2 separate regions of the Homo sapiens genome follow, and region 1 is linked to region 2. The links are contacts of gene promoters, found by promoter capture Hi-C in human tissues and cell types (Jung and others, 2019). All regions are on one chromosome and are shown on one strand. The core of a region is centred on a gene start or on the middle of the fragment in contact, and the rest is flanking DNA. Distances in the headings are between cores, read along the strand shown. Region 1 has its middle 14 kb from the start of UHMK1. Region 2 holds the start of DDR2 (discoidin domain receptor tyrosine kinase 2).

What was found. The method cuts DNA at HindIII sites, captures the fragments that hold promoters and counts their contacts. A contact is called where the count stands out against the background at its distance.
Region 1: a contact is called between a fragment that was not itself captured here and the fragment with the promoter of DDR2 in region 2, in 1 of the 25 tissues and cell types used here (spleen).

The regions. Positions count from the first base shown.
Region 1 is chr1:162,482,507-162,485,206 of GRCh38, forward strand. No RefSeq gene overlaps it. Among named protein-coding and RNA genes, the nearest start is that of UHMK1, 14 kb to the right of the region's middle. The HindIII fragment of the contact is 3,180 bases long and covers 1-2,700 here.
Region 2 is chr1:162,630,837-162,633,814 of GRCh38, forward strand. It overlaps DDR2 (discoidin domain receptor tyrosine kinase 2), which reads left to right and starts at 1,628. Exons shown (of 18, transcript NM_006182.4): 1 at 1,628-1,795. RefSeq lists enhancers at 1-85, 376-475. The HindIII fragment of the contact is 26,458 bases long and covers 1-2,978 here.

The DNA of each region.
Region 1 (2,700 bases), core at 48-2,547, 150 kb before region 2:
GAGGTGATGGATACCCCAATGACTGTGATTTGATCATTTCATATTATATGCTTGTTGCAAATCATCATATGTACCCCATAAATATATACAACTATTACGTGCCCATAATAATTAAAAATTTAAAACATTTTTTTTCTTTTTTTTTTGCGGCGGAATCTTGCTCTGTCGCCCACGCTGGAGTGCAGTGGCGTGATCTCAGCTCACTGCAACCTCCACCTCCCAGGTTCAAGCAATTCTCCTGCCTCAGCCTGCCAAGTTGCTGGGATTACAGGTGCCCACCACCACACCTGGCTAACTTTTTTTAATTTTTAGTAGAGGTGGGGTTTCACTAAGTTGGCCAGGCTGGTCTCCAACTCCTGTTCTCAAGTGATCCTCCCACCTCTGCCTCCCAAACTGTCGGGATTACAGCCGTGAGCCATTGCTCCCGGCCAAAATTTAAAGCTTTTTAAAAATCAGAAAGAAATGCATAACAAAATTGAACAGTGTTTTGTCTTCTTTCAATCCAAGTGTGTGACTTGGTAAGGGATTTTTTTTTTTTTTTTTTTTTTTTTTTTTTTTTTTTTTTTTGAAACGGAGTCTCGCTCTGTCTCCCAGGCTGGAGTGCAGTGGCGCGATCTCGGCTCACTGCGAGCTCCGCCTCCTGGGTTCACACCATTTTCCTGCCTCAGCCTCCCGAGTAGCTGGACTACAGGCGCCCACCACCACGCCCTGCTAATTTTTATATTTTTGGTAGAGACGGAGTTTCACCGTGTTAGCCAGGATGATCTTGATCTCCTGACCTCGTGATCCACCTCCTCGGCCTCCCAAAGTGCTGGGATTACAGGCGTGAGCCACTGCGCCCGCCAGGGATCTTTTTTTCTAATGCGTCTACTCTTGGCTTTGAGAGACAAGAAAGAGCTCTGTAAGGTATAATCTGTTCATATACAAAAGATGAGATTTACTGACCTGCTCCTAGACAAGTTCTGGAATTTGGTAAAATGAAAATATCCTGCTATTCATAGGAAAACAATAATTTGCTTCAGTTTTTTTTGGTTGTTGTTTGTTTTTTTGTTTTTTGAGACAGAGTCTTGCTCTGTTGCCCGGGTTGGAGTGCAATGGCACAATCTTGGCTCACTGCAACCTCCACCTCCCGGGTTCAAGCGATTCTCCTGCCTCAGCCTCCGTAGTAGCTGGGATTACAGGTGCCCGCCACCACGCCCAGTTAATTTTTGTATTTTTAGTAGAGATGGGGTTTCACCATATTGGCCAGGCTGGTCTCGAACTCCTGACCTCAAATGATCCACCCGCCTCAGCCTCCCAAAGTGCTGGGATTACAGGAGTGAGCCACCACACCTGGCTTTGCTTCAGTTTTTAACTACTTAAATCCGTGAGAATTTTTTATAGTATAGAAAGTATGAAGAGTAAAGACAGAAATTGTCTCATTTTACTGGAAAATGAAATCCATGTATGCTTATCTTAAACTCAGAATTCAATATTCAGAATTAAACTTCAACTCAGAATTATTTGTGCAATAAAAAACAAGCCCAAGTTTCACATTAAAGAAGAAAATTTTCTTTTTCATTTTTAGCCTCAAAAATAACAATTTTGGCTGGGCATAGTGGCTCACGCCTGTAATCCCAACATTTTTGGGAGGGTGAGGCAAGAGGATTGCTTGAGGCCAGGAGTTTGAGACCAGCCTGGGCAACATAGCAAGACCCTATTGCTATTATTAAATAAATGAATAAATAACACTTTTATGCAAGAAATCAATACCTGTATATAATGATTTTGTCACTGCCACGCTTACATTTAAGCTTGATCATGTCACTCAGTAAGAAAATGTTCTCTTTTAAGTCTTGTACAAAATTGTATCTTATACTAGATTTTTATTCATATTGGTTTTGTTTATGATTTTCATAGCTTACCTATTCAATAAATGTTAATAAAATTTTATGTTGTGAATAATATTAATCAAAATAAATGTGCAGTCTTTGTTTAAGTTAAATCAACCAAGCCTACCTTTAGAAAAAAATCAAACACCATTTTGGCTTGTCAGTTATTTAACAGAAATTTGTCATCTGCCTTCTGAATTTTATTTTATTTTATTTATTTATTTATTTTATTTTATTTTGAGACAGAGTCTTGCTCTGTCACCCAGGCTGGAGTGCAATGGCGTGATCTTGGCTCACTGCAGCCTCTGCCTCCCAGGTTCAAGTGATTCTCCTGTCTCAGCCTCCCGAGTAGATGGGATTACAAGTGCCCGCCACTTCACCCTGCTAATTTTTGTATTTTGAGTAGAGATGGGGTTTCACCATGTTGGTCTGGCTGGTCTTGAACTCCTGATCTCAGGTGATCTGCCCGCTTCTGCCTCCCAAAGTGCTGGGATTAAAGGTGTGAGCCACCATGCCCAGCCTGCCTTCTAAATTTTAAAAATTCATGAAAAGAAAGAGATTAATTTTTAAAAAGGTAAGTTAAGCTTAACTACCGATTTTTTTCCCAGAAAGGTTGGCTATAAAGTAATTATTAGTTTTAGATAGGGTGAAGAACTACTTTTGCCCATCAAATATGTTATAATATACCCCATTAATATCTTACATAGTAGAAATTTATTATAAGACTTTTAGGCCCACTTGGATAAGGTAAAAAATCAAGCACATTTCAACAAAGGAAAAACTAAAGTTTTCTCTATTTATACTAATGACTTAGATAAGAGTTATCCTT
Region 2 (2,978 bases), core at 378-2,877:
ATTGAGTTGAGCTGCATGTCTGGCCTGAGTCACCCTCAGGCCTGACTTCAGATGCTGTAAGTTATTTGAAGAGTCTTCTTAATAAGTTGATCTCTGCAGTGTCTTTTCTCTTCATAAACTAACCCTAGTTCTAGTTTTTTCTCTAAGGTCTTGCTTGCTGCCTTTAATCATTTCCATGGCTGCCCTCTGAACCATTCCCATGTTCTCCGTGTCCTTTTCTGTAACAGCTGTGAGGCACAGATGTTAACGGCTGCTTTCTGACCCTCAGACTGGTGCTGAGCTTATGAGACTTTTAGGGACTTAACACTGACTCAACACTAGCTCTCAGTTTCATGGCCACCCTCATTGTGTGTGTGTGTGTGTGTGTGTGTGTGTGTGTGTGTGTGTGTGCGCTTTTCCATTCCCCTTATGAAACATCTCCTGCCCCTAACTTACTATGGGAACGTTCCTCCATGATCTCTTTCCATCCTCCCTTTCCTGTTTGCTCACTTCTTTTCTTGCTCATCTTGGAGACTGTGCAATCCCAGATTAACTACAAACAGAGAAGAGCTGGTGATAGCTCCAGAGCTCAGAGAAAGGAGGTCTCTTTACAAGAAGTCTGGCTCTCAAAGGTAAGCTCGGTCTTCTTGACCTGCCTTTTGCCATCTACCTCTCTCTTTGGATCTCCTGCCCCTGGGTCCCTGCTTGCCCTGCATTCTCCATACTCACGGAGAATCAGGACCTCCAGAACAGCCCAGCGTGGGCTTGGTCAGGAATGATCCAGGCTCTGAAGGGTTAAGGCTGGAGCCTGGATGGATGGAGAGGGTTATTAGTTATCGTTTGGAGAGTGGAGTGAAGGCTCCTCCCCTGTTGCCTACCCGCCCCTTTCACATGATCTCTGACTATAGCTGTGGAAGCGGGGAGAAGATAAAGGAGGGAAAAAAAAGTTCACAAAATAATTTAGAAAGTCCTTATAAATGCTTGTGTTTTCATTTAGCAGCATGAATCCAGGACAGCAACAGACCCTCAGAGGCAGCAGCCAACTGGGAATTGAGTGGAAAAAAATAGGAATCCTGGATTCTGGCAGTTTCCAGTTGTTTTCTTGGTGGGGGGAGCCGTGGTGGGAAGGGATTAAATCAAATCTTTCGGGGGAGAGCTCAGCTCTAGGCTTTCATGGTCAAAATACTAAAGGTCAGCTCCGCGTGTGTGCCCCAACTGTCCTGGAAGCTTCAATTGGAAAACTCCAAACTTTAAGTTTTGCTTATAGCTTCAGCTCAAGTAAGAAAAATGAGGTGTGGGGTAGGCGGCGGGGGGGTGGGGATCACAGGAAGGGGATCAAGTCTTAGATGGAGGGGAAGGAAGTGGAGATGGATATGGGTGGGAATAAGGCAGAAGGGAGCGGTGTCTTTAAGTCTGTCCTATGGTTATACATATTTTTTCTTCTATGAATGGGTTTTGCTGTAAATTATAGCTTTGCCCATAGTCCCTTGGGTCAAAAGAAATAGTCTCCAAACAGAAAACAGCTCTGATTGGTGACTTTCCTTCTTCCCTCCCCAACCCCCTTCCTAATTGAAACCAAATGTGCAATATATTGGATGCTGGGATCCCTGGCGCTTTCCCAGGAATCCTCAGAATGTGAGGTTTCTCTCAAAGGCATCTTGCATCAGCCTGTGGATGTATGCCTACCACCGGGCTCCTTCACCAGCAAAGTGGAAAAAGAAGCGTTTCACAACAAATTCTTCTTTTTGGGTTGGGGAAACGCAGTGGATTATAGCTCTGTTTTCTTCTTTCCAAAACTGTGCACCCCTGGATGAAAGTAAGTTATGTGGGTCTTTTTTCTTTATTATTTTTTCTTTTTTGAAAATGAAAGCTCCGCATATACTTCTTTTGGTGTTTCAGGAAAAGTTTTAAAAAGGAAACAGAAGGGCGTTTTAAGTCAGACAAGGAAGGGAACGTAATGAGGCACCACAGACTCGAGAAATCAGATCCCATGTTTTTGGGGGTCTGGATTTATGCTATGAAGGGAAGAATAAAGAGCAGTAATAACCAAAGAAGCCTGAAGCAAAATAAATGAATCTATAGCAGCTGCAAGATACAATAAACAGTGTTAGCAGAGTTGAAATTGTTGGCAGGCAAGACAGGCCGATTGCAGAGTTAGTTTCAGGATGAAGAAGGCAGAGCAGGAGAGCTAAGTTTTTAGACATTTAGTAGTGGTGTTAGAAGGTCCTGAGTTTTGGAGATAGTGTAGACCAAGCACTTTTTGTTTTTCAGGGGAGTTGCTGATTTACTTGTGAGAAGGGTAACTTTGGATGAGGGGTGGCTTCCCCCTGAGATTTGGGGTGGCTAGGGGGAGGCTGGGTGCATGGAAGATTTTTCAGTTGTGACAGTGAAATACAGCTTCCCAGACTCATCTCCTCGCTGGCTCTGGGTGCCTTTCCCTTTGTTATGGAATGACTGGGGCTGTTTTCATTTGGGACCTCTGAGTCCTGGCCTAGGTTCAAGAGTCCCATCCAAAGGGAAAGAGAACTGTTCCCAGTGGCTGAAACTCTCAGACCAGCCATTTGAGGCAAGAGTTCGTACTGTTCAAGCCAGTAGGGGGTTCAGCACCATTTTGCCGATCATTGGCTTCCTACAACACAGAGTTAAGAGTCCTGAAAAGGGCCTTAGGCCTCTCATCTAACCCCTTCGCTCCACAGATGTAAAAAATGATAGGAAGGGGACCGACCTGTTCAAGTCCCACAGCACATCTGTAGTGGAGCTGAAAATGAAATTGAGATTCTCTCTACTGCTAGTCCAGTGTTCTTTCCACTCCATACCTCTGCTTTCATTTCCTTTTTAAGGCTTATTCTGGCTGAGACAATAGAGGCAGTATGATGAGCAAGTCACCACAAGGACGTTAATTATCAGTAATAGAGAGGACGCCAATGGCGGCTCATCAGCTAATGATGTCTATGGTTATATTTGTGTGTGTGTGTAAAATAAAAAGAAGCTAAATTCTG